Linked DNA regions of Homo sapiens: all the other regions are linked to region 1. The links are contacts of gene promoters, found by promoter capture Hi-C in blood cells and fetal thymus (Javierre and others, 2016). All regions are on one chromosome and are shown on one strand. Each heading gives the region's core, a stretch centred on a gene start or on the middle of the fragment in contact. The rest is flanking DNA. Distances are from core to core; before and after follow the strand shown. Region 1 holds the start of AMPD1 (adenosine monophosphate deaminase 1). Region 2 has its middle 160 kb from the start of TRIM33. Region 3 overlaps TRIM33 (tripartite motif containing 33).

The links. Contacts are between HindIII fragments. The CHiCAGO score rates a contact against its expected background, and 5 or more counts as called.
Region 2: a contact is called between a fragment that was not itself captured here and the fragment with the promoter of AMPD1 in region 1, in 2 of 17 cell types (naive B cells and total B cells). The highest score is 8.3, in naive B cells.
Region 3: a contact is called between a fragment that was not itself captured here and the fragment with the promoter of AMPD1 in region 1, in 2 of 17 cell types (total B cells and naive B cells). The highest score is 6.1, in total B cells.

The regions. Positions count from the first base shown.
Region 1 is chr1:114,693,371-114,698,195 of GRCh38, forward strand. It overlaps AMPD1 (adenosine monophosphate deaminase 1), which reads right to left and starts at 2,176. Exons shown (of 16, transcript NM_000036.3): 1 at 2,080-2,176; 2 at 66-77. The coding sequence starts at 2,101. It also overlaps the pseudogene RN7SL432P. The HindIII fragment of the contact is 1,819 bases long and covers 492-2,310 here.
Region 2 is chr1:114,348,763-114,353,587 of GRCh38, forward strand. No RefSeq gene overlaps it. Among named protein-coding and RNA genes, the nearest start is that of TRIM33, 160 kb to the right of the region's middle. RefSeq lists enhancers at 1-449, 3,738-4,238, 4,239-4,739 and a silencer at 4,105-4,399. The HindIII fragment of the contact is 218 bases long and covers 2,520-2,737 here.
Region 3 is chr1:114,403,768-114,408,592 of GRCh38, forward strand. TRIM33 (tripartite motif containing 33) reads right to left here. Exons shown (of 20, transcript NM_015906.4): 14 at 3,174-3,333; 15 at 1,643-1,992. Among named protein-coding and RNA genes, the nearest start is that of TRIM33, 110 kb to the right of the region's middle. The HindIII fragment of the contact is 2,497 bases long and covers 1,323-3,819 here.

The sequences.
Region 1 (4,825 bases), core at 926-3,425:
GGAATAGTATCATTTTTTTAAATTGATACTCTGACAAATGGCAGCAAAAGTAATGCAATACTCACGTTTCTCTTCAGCTGTATGAAGTAAAATAAAACAAGATAAAATATGTGAACAACTTTCTGTAATCATGGTGGCTATTAATCACTGCTTTGGGGTAGACACATGTAGATTGCTGTTATTTCAGCTCAGCCTTCCAGCTTGTCTACAGTTTTCTGCCATCAGAAAGCTTGGGAATATGGTCATTATACAGCTCTTCATTTTCTTTTCTTTTCTAATATGTCTCTTAACATTTATAAGTATACTTTTTAAAAGGCACTCTCTATAAAATATGATTTTTAAAAATATCTGATGAAGAAAGATGGGAATGCTCATATGATGTTGGTAGTAGTAAACTTAAAACAGCTCATTTGGTAAACAATTTAGTAACACCTACCAAACAACCATTTCTGAGAAGCTATCCTACGGAAATCATCCTTAAACATGGAAAAAGCTTTAGGTGTCAATATTGTTATCAGAACATACTTATACTTAAAAAAACCATAAAGAGGCCGGGTGCAGTGGCTCACGCCTATAATCCTGGTACTATGGGAGGCCGAGGCTGGCAGATCATGAGGTCAGGAGATCGAGACCATCCTGGCTAATACAGATATTCACTGTGTTATATGTGAAACACCGTCTCTACTAAAAATATAAAAATTAGCCGGGCGTGGTGGCAGGCGCCTGTAGTCCCAACTACTCGGGAGACTGAGGCAGAATGGCATGAACCCGGGAGGTGGAGCTTGCAGTGAGCCAAGATCGCACCACTGCACTCCAGCCTGGGTGACAGAGCGAGACTCTGTCTCTAAAAAAACAAAAACAAAAACAAAAACGAACAAACAAAAAAAAACCCCCAAACCATAAAGAACCTAAGGGATTAATTAAGAAAATAGAATATGCAGTCTTTTAAAATGGTTTTTAGGAAAGGTTTGGGATACCATGGTAAAAGGATAAGTTGTAAAGTTAAGCCAAAACATTATCCTGCCAAAAGCAGGATATAAAATTACATGTGCAATATAATAACAGTGCCTTTTTAAAAAAAACTCTTTAATTTTACACAGAAAATAGATTGAAAAGAAAAAAAAACACTAAAATGTTAAGAGTGAATATCTTTGGATAATGGATGTGCAGATTTTTAAAATTATTACTTTTGGCTGGGTGCAGTGGCTAACACTTGTAATCCCAGCACTTTGGGAGGCTGAGGCAGGCAGATTGCTTGAGCTCAGGAGTTTAAGATGAGCCTGGGCAACATAGCGAAACCCTGTCTCTACAGAAAATACAAAAACTAGCTGGGCGTGGTGGCAAGTGCCTGTAGTCCCAGCTACTCGGGAGGCTGAGGTGGGAGGATCACCAGATCCCAGAAGATTGGGGCTGCAGTGAATCGTGATCGTGCCACTGCACTCCAGCCTGGGCAACAGAGTGACACCCTGTCTCAAAAAATAAATAAATAAGTAAAAAATAAAATTATTACTTTTACTGAATTTCCCAACTTTCAAAACGAATGTTTATTACTTTTATTTTTTCAGCACAATTTCTATTTCACATGAAACATGTATTGCTTTTATCATTTAAAAATTATAACATTATTATTTTAAAAATTACTCTGCGTACAAACCTGGACAACAGAAAGCTATTCTCGTGAACCATCAGAATACACACATGGGTTATTTTTGTCATGTTCATGATTTTCAGCCAATACCATAGCTAGAGTCATTATGTAGAAGCCGTCTCAGAGCTATGGCAGCACAGGTTTTGTTTAGACTAGCAGAATAGATATTAAATATTTCACAGAGTTTTCTACTGGGATCATCAAAGATGCAATATACATGATAACAGTTTTAGAAACTTACCCACATCCCAAAACTAAAAACAAACAAAAAACCCTTGAAAATATTTTGTGTTTTCCTGAAATGTATGTTAAAGCTATCACGAACCCTAAATGAATGATCAAAGCTGATATGGTAGCTAAAGGAACAGTTGCTTGTCAAAAAAAAAAAAAAACAACAACAACTGAGCTCTCCAAACACTTTGTACACCTACCTGGGAGTTTGAACAGAGGCATTGTTGCTGAAATCCTTGATTCTAGGATAGCACAGTAGAAAAGAAGAGAGAGGAGACTGTGGGGTGACTGACTGACACTATAAAATATCCTGACATTCATTTTATTATTTTGCTTTGCCCCCGGAAATTTGATTCTTCTCTGCTAAGTGGAGAGAGATGAGCTTTGGACCTATTTATAGCTTGAGGCATTTGATAGTGAAAAACAGGTGAAGCTTTCAGTCTTTACTTTGGGATTAGAAGATATCTGTGGTGGGCCAAAAATTGCATTTCAATACTCTCTAAATCTTCTTACAGACTGGATCTTTGGCAAGTGTAGGACCACTGATGGTGATATCCCACCCTAGTGAAATACAGTGAAGTCTTTCCGGTTTCTGAAGCTATGATCCTCAGGGTTTCACATCACGCAAACAGCTTTCTGTGGTTGGTGAATATGCTGGTACATTCATCAAGCTCTCAACAGACACACACGCACACGCACACACGCTCAGGAATGCATGTTTTTATTAGTAATGTGTCTGACTTAGCAGAACTTCAGTTGACAGTTTAATGAATTAAGTGTTAAATTTACTTCAAGTCTTTTACAGAAACTCAACTGTCCTCCAGAGTATCCAGTTACCACTTCTCTACCTATTGTTATAATAAGAACAATAGCTTTGTTTTGTATAACATTTTATTGTATGTAAAACATTTGGCAAACATTATCTATTTGATACTAATTACAATCCTGTAAGGCAAGTAATACCTTATCCCTGTTTCCCAAATAAGAAAACTGGGGCTCTGACAGGTATCTTGCTCAAAGTCATTCTGTTCATCATAAATGGCAAAGCCAAGGCTCTCTGGACCCAAATCTCACGCTCTTTCCATAATAACACACAGTCTTAGTTATGACTGTATATATGTGTGTGTATATATATGTATATATGTATATATATGTGTATATACATATATTTTTTTCGAGACAGAGTCTCGCTCTGTTGCCCGGGCTGGAGTGCAGTGGCGCGATCTCGGCTCACTGCAAGCTCTGCCTCCCGGGTTCACGCCATTCTCTTGCCTGAGCCTCCCGAGTAGCTGGGACTACAGGCGCCTGCCACCATGCCCGGCTAATATTTTTTGTATTTTTAGTAGAGATGTGGTTTCACTGTGTTAGCCAGGATGGTCTTGATCTCCTGACCTCATGATCCACCTGCCTTGGCCTCCCAAAGTGCTGGGATTACAGGCGTGAGCCACTGCGCCCGGCCAGTTATGACTAAATATTTGATAGTTGCTGCTAGGTAAAGAAAGTACGCTGCTAGACTCAGCAGAAATTTTAAATTATAACAGCTTATATTGAAGATGAGCTTGGCACTTCAGATTAGCAACAGAATTATGGGCATAGACCAAATGATCTTTTTACTATTAACTATTTCTTTTTGAAAATTGGGACAAGCCTTTTTGTTGGCAAAACTTAACAATATTTTAGTGCTTAGCCTTATGGCCAACCTCTCAATCAACAATATTGCAACACATTACAAAGGTGTTACTGAACCAAAATATTTGTTCATTTCTTTCCAACTCCTTTTTGTTACATTTTTACCTGGATTTCCCAACAGTATCCACAAATTGATACATCCAAACCAAGCATCTTCCTCCATGAACCTGCTTCTCCTTCAGTAATTCCTATCTTTATATAAGTTACACTCCAATTTTCTCATTCCAATTGTGTAAATACCCTAGTTGCCTACCCAAAGATCATTTTCCCTACCTTTCTTACAAACAAAAACTTCTTTGGTTTGAGCATTAATGTGCTCAGCCAAAAAACAGCATTTGCTAGAATCCTTTGTGGCTAGAAGCGGCCATTTGACACAGCCTGGCCAAAGTGATGTAAGCAGAATTGCTGGGTGGGATGTCTCCAAAAGTTCTTTTAAAAGGGACCAGCTCAGCTGGCATATGTTTTGCCTTTTGCCCTTCCTCTTCTTCCTGCCTGAAAAAGGAAATATGTGGATAGGGGCCTCCAAACCAACCATTGTTTTAACACAAATGGTGAGCAGGACAAGAGCCACATGAAGACTATCTGAACAGAAACAAATAATTAGGGTCCCTGATGGCATCCTAAAGCCACCATATTAGTCCAGGACTTCCCATATTTAGAATTCTTGTTTAATTAAGGAATTTTTTTAAGAGACAGGGTCTCACTATGTTGCTCAGGCCAGGGTGTAGTGGTTATTGACAGGAGTGATCCTACTACTAAAATCAGCACAGGAGTTTTGACCTGCTCTGTTTCAGACCTGGGCTAGTTCACTCCTTAGGCAACTTGGTGGTCCCCCGCTCCTGGAGGGTCACCCTGTTGATGTTGAAATTAGTGTGGACACTTGATCAGCATAGATTGCTATAGCCCAGAACTCCTGGACTCAAGTGATCCTCCTACCCAAGCCTCCTGAGTAGCTGGGAGTACAAACATGCATCACCATACCCAGCAAGACTTCTTGATACATAAGAAAAATGGTTGGGCGCAGTGGCTCATGCCTGTAATCCCAGCACTTTGGGAGGCCGAGGCAGGCAGATCACGAGGTCAAGAGATCGAGATCATCCTGGCCAACATGGTGAAACCCCGTCTCTACTAAAAATACAAAAATTAGCTGGGTGTGGTGGTGCATGCTTGTAGTCCCAGCTACTCGGGAGGCTGAGGCAGGAGAATCACTTGAACTCGGGAGGTGGAGGTTGCAATGAGCTGAGATCACACCACTGC
Region 2 (4,825 bases), core at 1,379-3,878, 340 kb before region 1:
GGCTGAACAAAGACAGCCTGAGCACAGGAATCCTGGCCAAACAGGGATCTTCGTGGCCACCATTCCACAGGTGTTGCCAACTGTAGGAACAGTGCCTGCTCTCTGCCCCTGGGTCCAACCATTCTGAAGCTGCCCGGTCCTGACTTGCAACAACCTAAGATTTTTGGTGGCACAGGAGAGGTGATAGGTTTCAGTTAAGCTACTTGGGTTGCAAGGAGCATAGAGAGTTACAGACTAACCCAGGACCATAACGTTCCAAGCCCTGGAGCTGGGATGGGAGGAGTGGCTCTTGGGACCAGCCAAGCACTCCACCGTGCTCAGCGGCCGGCCTCAGCCCTGAATGTCTACTCCGTTCCTCAAACTAAGACTCGCTGCTGCTTCTTTTACTCTCCCTTATTTACCTTTTCTCTGTCCTATAGCTTCTGCCTCTAGATAGTTTCTACCTCCTTGTAACTTTAGCCTTCCAAGACCCTCACTCAACTTCTTGGTCTTGCCCTACAGCAGGATCCTTCAGCTGAAGTCCCCATGCTGCGTGATTTTCTCCATATTCACAAATTCCAATGCCCATCTTAGACCAAACAGCCTCAGGCCCCCAGGGACAAATGTGGGGTGACCTGACAAAGCCAGGTTTATTGACTTGTTGCAGTGAAAGAGCCACACACCAGAGGAACCATGAGGCATCTCACCAAATGTAGGAGATTGATTATTATACATTGTTGGGGAAGGTGGTGTTTACGTGACATTTAAATGATCAGTGTCTTACTAGGCTCACAGCAAGGCAAAGCTGAATGTGAAGGGGCAATGTCAGGTCTGGAATGCAAAGTGAATCCAAGGACCTCTGACCTTGGAATCTAAAGTTGGGATATATGTAAAATGTTGTGTCCAGAAACCCCTTACCTGAGGCTCTGCACATGGACTGTAAATTAAGGCTACTTCCCTGTGTCAATGACTGAGATCCTCTAAGCAACAGAGAGGTGTTTTATTCTTACTGATGTAATTTCAAACAGTGAAATTTCTGATAGTCTATATTTTAGAGGACAAAGTTTCTCAGTGAGTGAGAAAACAGTAGTCACTCAAAGAAGACAGTTACGACATTTTACAGCTGCACTGTGTCCTTGAGGAAAATAATGTTTTCTGTGAACTTTGCAGCTCACTTTATCCATGTCATTATTCCGGCACGATAGTCGGCCGGCAGATTCTTTCTTTCTTATGTTCAAAAAGAGCATCTGCTTGGCCCAGCCTATCTTTGCAGGCTGCTTCCCAGCTCAGGCACAGGGTGTCCTCGGGTTCCGCTTTCCCCCAGCCCAGGTCTCATCAGTGATACTAGGAAGAAGGCTGTCCTTCAGGCCACTCTCCTGAAGGGGCTGCGGACATAGCCGGTGTCCTGCTGAATGAATTCCACATGAAAATGGGAGCTCCAGCTCCAGAGCTGGGTAAAGTCCCTCATTCAGTCTACTTGGTCAGGATGGAAGCATCCTGCAATGCCCACCCACCACTCCTTGCTCCACTCTGCCTTTCCACGTGGAAGCACGTGTCCTCCGGCAAAGGATAAACTGCTTAAACAAGAAAGAAGTTTCTCTCCAGGTGACAGTCCGGAGGTAGGCAAGTGGTCCAGGGCTGGTGTGTGGCTCTGCCATCCTCAGGCATGGCTTCCGTTTGCAGCTGCAAATGGCTAGTACAGTCCTTGCCAATGCCTAGCCAGCAGGCCAGGAAAGACATGGGAACACACACTCAGTCCTCTTAAGTGCAAGAATATAACATTCTGGGAACTAAGGTGTATGATTTCAGCTCATTTGTCATTCGCAGGACTTGCTCAGGTAAGGGAGGCTGGGAAAGAGACTTGACTTGGTGGCCACGTGCAGGAGCTGTCAACCCTCTCCTAACCCACCACTTAGAGACAGTGCCCTTCTTGTTGGCTAGCCTCTTCCATCCACAGGCAAATGCGTCCTTTCCTCTTTTGTCCTGTCCTAGTCTCTAAAAGAACCAGAGATGTTAACATCTGAGCCTCCCCTGAGTGCAGACCAATGGGGACAGGGCTGCAGATCCTGGGCAGGGATCTCCGTGCTGATGGTGAGGAGACATTGTCAGTGGCCCTTGCTCCACCAGAGTCCTCCCTGCAGCGCCCTTCACCGCCCAGCCCCCTTGCCCACCCCTGTCATTTGGTGCTCAATTTCAGATGCCTGCCCATCCCCTGCCTTGCTCCAAAGAACTTTGGTAGGTAGAGGAGGCACTGCTCCAGGGCCCCAGGAGCATGGGAGTATCCTGAGGCCAGTCGGTGCCTCCAGGGCTCTTCCCGGCCTCCTCCAAACAGCATGTTCTCTTCTCCCTTCCTTGGGGCTAAAAGGAGTCGGACCATGTGAGAGTGGAGGGTACTGAGGTTGTGCTGGCCTTTGTGCTCAGCACCCTCCATCCACTGCCACCCACCTATGCCACTCTCTTGGCTTGTTGACTGGCCAGGCTGGGGACGCAGTTTTCTTACATGTCCAGAGCAAAGCAGTAGAAGACAGGCCAGCACTGCAAGCTTGAGCCTACGTGCTCCAGCATCTCCGAGCTCCCAGGCATCCACCCACCCCACACCTCAGCCACTGGCTCCTGGGCCCTGGCAAGTGCCACATTCCTGATGTGGTGGACGCTGTCCCAACTCATGTCAGGCCAGGCCCAGAGGCAATGGGAACTGATGGACAAGATGGATCACCACCTCCCCACCTACACAATTATTGTAGACATCCCACCCGAAAGCTTGTTCTATAGTTGCCATGGAGGAATGCCCCAGAGGAATGAATTGGTACCAAGGTCATAGTGACTTCATGCACCAAACGCAGGGAGGTATAGCAGTGAAGTGCATAGACTTGAAGTCAGGTTAGCTGCGTTTAAATCTGAGGTCTACCACTTCCCAGCAACTGGGATCTTGAGCAATTATTTAACTCCTCTAAACCTCAGTTTCTTCATTTCTAAAATGAGACTAATAATGGTAGCACACTTCATAATCATCAAGGAAGACTAAAACAATTGTTACACCAAAAGTGCTTAAAACAGGGCCTAGAACAAAATGAGCATTTCATAAATGTTGGCTATTGTTACTTTTCTAGAGGTCTTTGGATTCAATGAATCAATATGACAATACATGACCTTGTGGAAAGACACTAATGGTGGTCTCCCACACATCAAGTCACAGAAGTGGGGGACATAGTTTTAGGGCATTGGGAAAGCTGGTGTTGCTCACAGGGAACTGTCTGATGTAGAAAAGGGCTTCCCGGGAACTGTGAAGTCAGAAAAATTGGTCAAAATCATACTGATTGCTGTTAACATGTCGGAGGCAGGCAGGCTGCAGAGACAAAGCCTCTGGGGTCTCCTGATCACCACTGCGTAAAACCCAGGTTATTCTCCAGCACCCCTAGGACAATCTCACCCCACAAGCAAAAAGGATGGTTGTGTGAACCCTGCTGTTGTAAACCTGGGGCTGGGAAAAGTGAGACCAATTTGTTGGATAAAGATGTGAGGACATTTAAGCCCTTGCCATGCATGAAGTTAGGAAGATGGCAATCATTTTTGCTTATAGCAATGCCTTAAAACTTATCCTATATCAGCAGCTGTGACTGGGAAGAGCCCTGTGCTGGGAGTGCAAACGAGACCATGAGCTTCTTGAGGTAGGTGTGGATCTAATCAATTGCCTGGCACACAGATGATGCTCAGTAAATATTGGCTGGATGAAGTCAGGAAACCTGTGTTCCAGTCTCTGCTCTGTAGGGAGCCAACAGTGTCACCCCGGTCAATATGCCTCTCCTCCAGGGTTGCTGTTCCCCATCTGCCTCTAGACTTGATATCTGAGATTCCATTGAGCAGTAAGATTCTGTCCGTTCCCAGCCTAGGAGCTTGCTGCCCACCTAAGGAGACCTGTCTTGCTGTAAGACCCTCAGGCCTTGCCCTCCTCAACCTCAGCAGGGAGACTGCCTGCCTGAGTTGGAGGTGGTGTGTGTGGTGGAAAGGCAAGGCTCCATGTTTTTTTCCTTTTGACTGCTCGATAGTGGAGCCTCAGACCCCTTGCAGGAGGAATGAGTCGGTGTGGGGAGGGTAATTGAGCCGAAACTGGCAGGAGGAGGAGAATAGGTGCAAAGGAAGTCAGGGCAACCAGCTCCCTGGGGAGAAGCTGAGAGGCAGCAAGTAGAGGCCGAGCCAGAGATGATAGGAGAGGGCCCAGCAGCAGCAGCGAACAGCAGTGTGGCTGGGGAAGAGCAGATGGGGCTGGCAGATGGGAGCTGACAGGCTGCACGGGCTGGCAGGCAGCTCAGCATTTCTCAAGAGGCAGCTCCGCTGAGCAGCCAAGGGGAGATGGGGAAGGCTGAGCTATCAAACCCTTTCTGCTTCCCAATCATGTCTTTCTCTAGGAGACCTACAGGAGAGGATTGGGCCTAAGAAGTCAGGGTTGCCTCCCACAATTAATGATAAAATTTCAATTCGAAATCAATAACTTAATGGAATGAGATTTCTTTTCATCTGAATTGGGAAGCATTCATTAAATACCTACTCCGTGGCAGGCCCTCAGTAGGATGCTAGGTGAGAAGGACCTCTCTGCCGTGCAGGGGAAGCTCAGTCAGGAAGTAGAGCAGGCAAGACCTCAGACTCCAGGCAGACAGTACCACAGTACAGGTGGGCAGTGGGCCAGCTGTGGGGGAGGAGGGAGGGCCACTGGAACTGGGAGGGGACGTAAGACAGGAAGGCTTGGCAAAGGCAGCAGCATGCAAATTAACTCTCCGTTTTCACATGGAGGAGGTAGGGCCTTCTGACTGTGTGAGTCAGCTTGCAGGAAAGTGCAAAAGCCAGTCTG
Region 3 (4,825 bases), core at 1,321-3,820, 290 kb before region 1:
TGCCTACCTTGGCCTCCCAAAGTGCTGAGATCACAGGCACCCGCCACCATGCCTGGCCAATTTTTGTATTTTTAGTAGAGATTGGGTTTTTTCACCATGGTGGCCAGGCTGGTCTCAAACTCCTAGCCTCAAGTGATCCACCTGCCTTGGCCTCCCAAAGTGCTGGGATTACAGGTGTAAGCCACTATGCCCGGCTACCTCCTATCTTTTAACCCTGCCAAGTATATACTTTGTTTTTATCAGGATTTCTTATCAAACTATGAATTCTAAAATGATTCACTCCCTCTCTCTATATAAACAGATACATGGAGATATATAGAGAGATATATACATAGATCCTAAATCTAGGGATTGTACTAACCAATCTATTTGTTTTTCTTTTTTAGAGACGGAGTCCTGCTCTGTCACCCAGGCTAGAGTGCAGTGGTACAATCTCGGCTCATGGCAACCTCTGCTTCCCAGGTTCAAGCAATTCTCCTGGCTCAGCTCTCCGAGTAACTGGGACTACAAGGTGTGTGCCACCATGCCTGGCTAAGTTCTTTTTTTTTTTGTATTTTTAGTAGAGATGGGGTTTTGCCATGTTGGCCAGGCTGGTCTCAAACTCCTGACCTCAAGTGCTCCGCCTGCCTCAGCCTCCCAAAGTGCTGGGATTACAGGTGTGAGCTACCACACCTGGCTAATTTACGCCAACATTTTACAACCCTTTCAAAGCATTTGCTATTGAAAGAAGGCATTCAGTGGCAAAATTCTGACATTCCAGTAAATATTACTACCCAAAGAAAAGAAAATTCTTAATTTCAAGATCAAAGTGCCAATGCTTTTCTTTTCTAAATAAGAGTAAAGAAAAAGAAGGCCCTTATTACATCTCTAGCAAATAACTCTATCTCCAAAGACTTAGGTAAGAAATTACAATTCTTCAGAAAAATATTCTGGCACTGTTTAAATATCTACTAGTTTTCTAATCCAAAAGGTTAACACTTTCAAAGAGGGCACTATTATTCAATTAAAGTTACTGCTTCTCAGGAATTTGAGAAGATATATCTTTTTTTTTTTTTTTTTTCAATTTATAGCAAGAAAAAAGCTGGGTTTACCCCAAGAATACTGACTTACTTTCACCAAAAAGAAATTGGGGGACAAGAGAGGAAGGAGAAGACTGAAAAAAACAAGTATGACTCTACTATTTTATGGTCTCTGAAATCAAGAGACAAGAGGTTGCATGAACATAAAATAATAAATGGAAGGGAAGAACTACAGCTCTGCTAAACCAAAACCTACCACTTGTAGATGCAAAAACTGATCCCTGATAATTAGTGAATTGCTCAAGCTTACTACAGAATTAGAACCAGACTGCAGGTTTTGTAACCTTAGCCCCCTATTAATTTAGAGTTTTATCTATTTTCCTTATACTGAATATAAACTAAAGGCCAGGAGATGAAATCTACTCTTTAACATTAATGTACTACTTAGATCTTAGATATTTTATTGTTAGTTTCTCTGGAAGCTAATACCAAAAGAATAACAGGCTCCCTGTTTTATAGAAATACTATGCACTGGTTAGAAGGCCATCTGCCCTGAACATTCTTCTGTTATTTATTTTTAGCTTATGAAAATCAACACCAAAAATCAATTATTTCACTGGTACCTTGGAAAGCTAAGTAGTGTTGGAACATGACAAGTTAGATGAAAGACCTTTGGACATTTTTCGCAGCACAAGAGATCTCCTCCGTTTTGGCAGACAGCACACCAGTCTTCATTTGGGTCATCATCTTTATTGTTGCCATCTCCTCCAATCCTTGCCGACCTGTGCATGAGGCTTCGAATTGGGGACTTTCCATTAACAAGGCTGCTGAGCCCTGACTGTTTGCAGCTTTCATTCATATCTGCAGGTTCAATTTTCACATGGTTTTCCAGGCTTGCCAATGCATCCAATTCACTTTCTAGATGCAGGTTGGTTGAGAGAGGTGGTGTCAAGCTACTCTCAGGACTGCTCAACTAAAACAAAACGATGACAAATTCTTGAAGAATCATTTAATCTTTATTGTATGCCATATGTGTATTTAACAGTTATGTGAATATGCATATAGATATACTGACGTAACAAATTTATTTTATAGATCACAATAGTGCCATAAAGAAATGACAATAACCCCAAAATTATTCAGGCACGCTAACATATGATTTTAAGGGGTCTGCTCCTCTGATAATGTCTCACTCAAATAATAAGTAAATTAATTAAACTGTTAAGCTATTGATTGGGAAGTGAGCATAGGGTTATACTTTTCCTTGAGAGAGCTAATTATGGCACACCCCTTTTCACACCCAGAATCTTTTGCATAGCATTTTAGAAGCATTCTATAATATTCTTCTGCTCACCTATCATTCTACTATATTGTAGGAAGGCTGCAACAACATAAAAGAAATTGTTCACCAACCTTGGCACCCATTTTTTTTATGGGGGTACTTTCTAAACCAAGTTCTGGATGAAGACGTAACAATACTCCAAAACCAAGGCTGAATCTCTTGCTCTCTGAATCTATATATACTGTGTTAAATATACCAATACCTTGAGATGAATTCCCATGTGCCAACCATATAAAAAAGGAAAAAGAAGCCCGGTCAGAAAGAGAAAACAAAAATCAAAATATTTAAACCAAGAGGGGCTTGGCCTTCCTTCATTCTGTATTAGAAATTTTATAAATGTTCCACTCAAGGAACTCCAGAATGATTAGTAATACGTAAGCCAAAAGACAAACTTCCTATCACAAAACTCTGATCAATAAATTTCTTTCATGTCAGCAATCTTAATGCTGAGCTCACAGGTCCAGGAGAATCCCAAAGATCTTTTGTGGCCTGAGATTCAATGTGACTACTGAAATAATAATTTCAGGACAAGATACAATCTGATTTAGCATCATGGGAAGAATATTGACTAAATACAAATTCAAAGATAATTTCAAATGAGTACTTAATACAATTAAGTCTTTTCTGATTAATTACAGCTGACTCTTAGACAAAAAAGTTGAGTTAGAAAAAGAGATATCTGGCTTGTGCCAGGCATGAAATTTCAAAAATAAATGTTTCTAGACCCACTACTTAGTCTTAATATACTCAGAGCTGAAAGAATCAATGAAGTGATGTCCTTAAGTCCCTGTCAGACTCCAGTGGGAGCTTACCATGCAAGCACTCCTCCTGCCATCCTCTGTTTTTTCTTGTTTTACACCTCCTGAAAAGCTACATATTTCATCTTCAGTCCCAGGTTCTTGCTTGACCTTCACCTGATCAGATTTGAAACTAAGACTTGTCTTCTCAGCAGTTCTTCCTGATGACCCACAGCTAATAAGAAACAACAAATAAAGATCACATACGTTTGACTATATGGTATAAATAAAAACAATTATATGAAAAGTAATGTTCACTAAAGTGAAGACAATAGACAATTAACTTTACAGAAGATAAGGATACCTCATAATGTAGTTAAGGGGAATGTGGTATAAAGCCTAGCTTAAAACTCTTTAAAATTATGCAGCAACTTTCAGAAGACCCTAAAAACACATTTTATGGTTTGAAGCACTTTCTTCACACACACACACGCACACACACACACTCCTATTTCTTAGCTCTGTCCACTGAAAAGGCCTAAGAAACAATGAACAATTCAGTAGCAATGAGTGCTATTAGTACTAGAATATTATCCTCAAACACTATTTTCCTGCTTTCCTGCTAACACTACCAGAACTTCCTGGGAAAGTGGCTGATTCCAGGTCTGAAGCATGAAATGTACAAAATGAACCCGAAATGCTGTTTCACAGGAAACATGGAAGCTTAAAAAAGACTGCTGTGATTATAGCAAAAGGACTAAGGAGCAAGCCTGAGAAAGCTTTGACAGGACAAAGATGGAATAATGTTCAGTGTTCAATATACATACATACAGACGTAACATATATAATGGATTAAAATATATAAAGTATGTTTAAATATCTCAGTCCATAAAGGTAATAACAATAAAACTGTCACTGTTGGAGGGTGTTGGAAATCAATTCATTACCACAAAAGCAGGGAAATAAACAGAAAGAATTTATCCTATCTTTCCTATAACCCAATAGTTGATGACAGAAAGCTTCTCTTTACAGAAATATTCTAAAGAAATAAAGAATGATACAATAATTAAAATGTAATATTTCAACCAGCAGAAAAATAATAGAGCTAAACAATGATTATTAACGGTTGCCATCACAAAAACCCCCAACCAGGCATAATTCGCCCCAAAGGAAGTATATGCCACCACTACACTACCAAGTCTTCTTGCTCTCCCTTCCCCCAAATCAAACCTAAATCTGATCAACCCTCTTGACCTAAATACCAAAATAGACAGAAAAACAGGAGGCAATGTACTTAAATGACAAGATGGAGAAATCGGGAAAACACTGTAGGAGAAACTACATTTTTACAACAAATTAACTGATAGTGATGTAAACAAATAAACTGATGGCAATGTATAGAGCTTATTTGCATCTGATTCAAAGAAATCATCTGGTTTTTTTTTCAAAGGCATTTGTTGCAAAAATTGGGAACACTAAACATTAACTGGATCTCTACTGATATTAAAGAATGAGTTGTTAAATTTTTTTAGGTGTGATCATGGTTCTGTGGTTATAAATTTTTAAAGTTCCTTTCATTAAGTGATATATACTGAAACAGTCACGAGTGAAATGACTGAGATTTGTTTCAAAATAATTCAGACCAGAAAGGAATTGGCAGAAGTATAGAAGAAACAAGATTGGCCATTATTTGATCACTGTTAAAGCTGAGTGTTAAGTATAAAGGG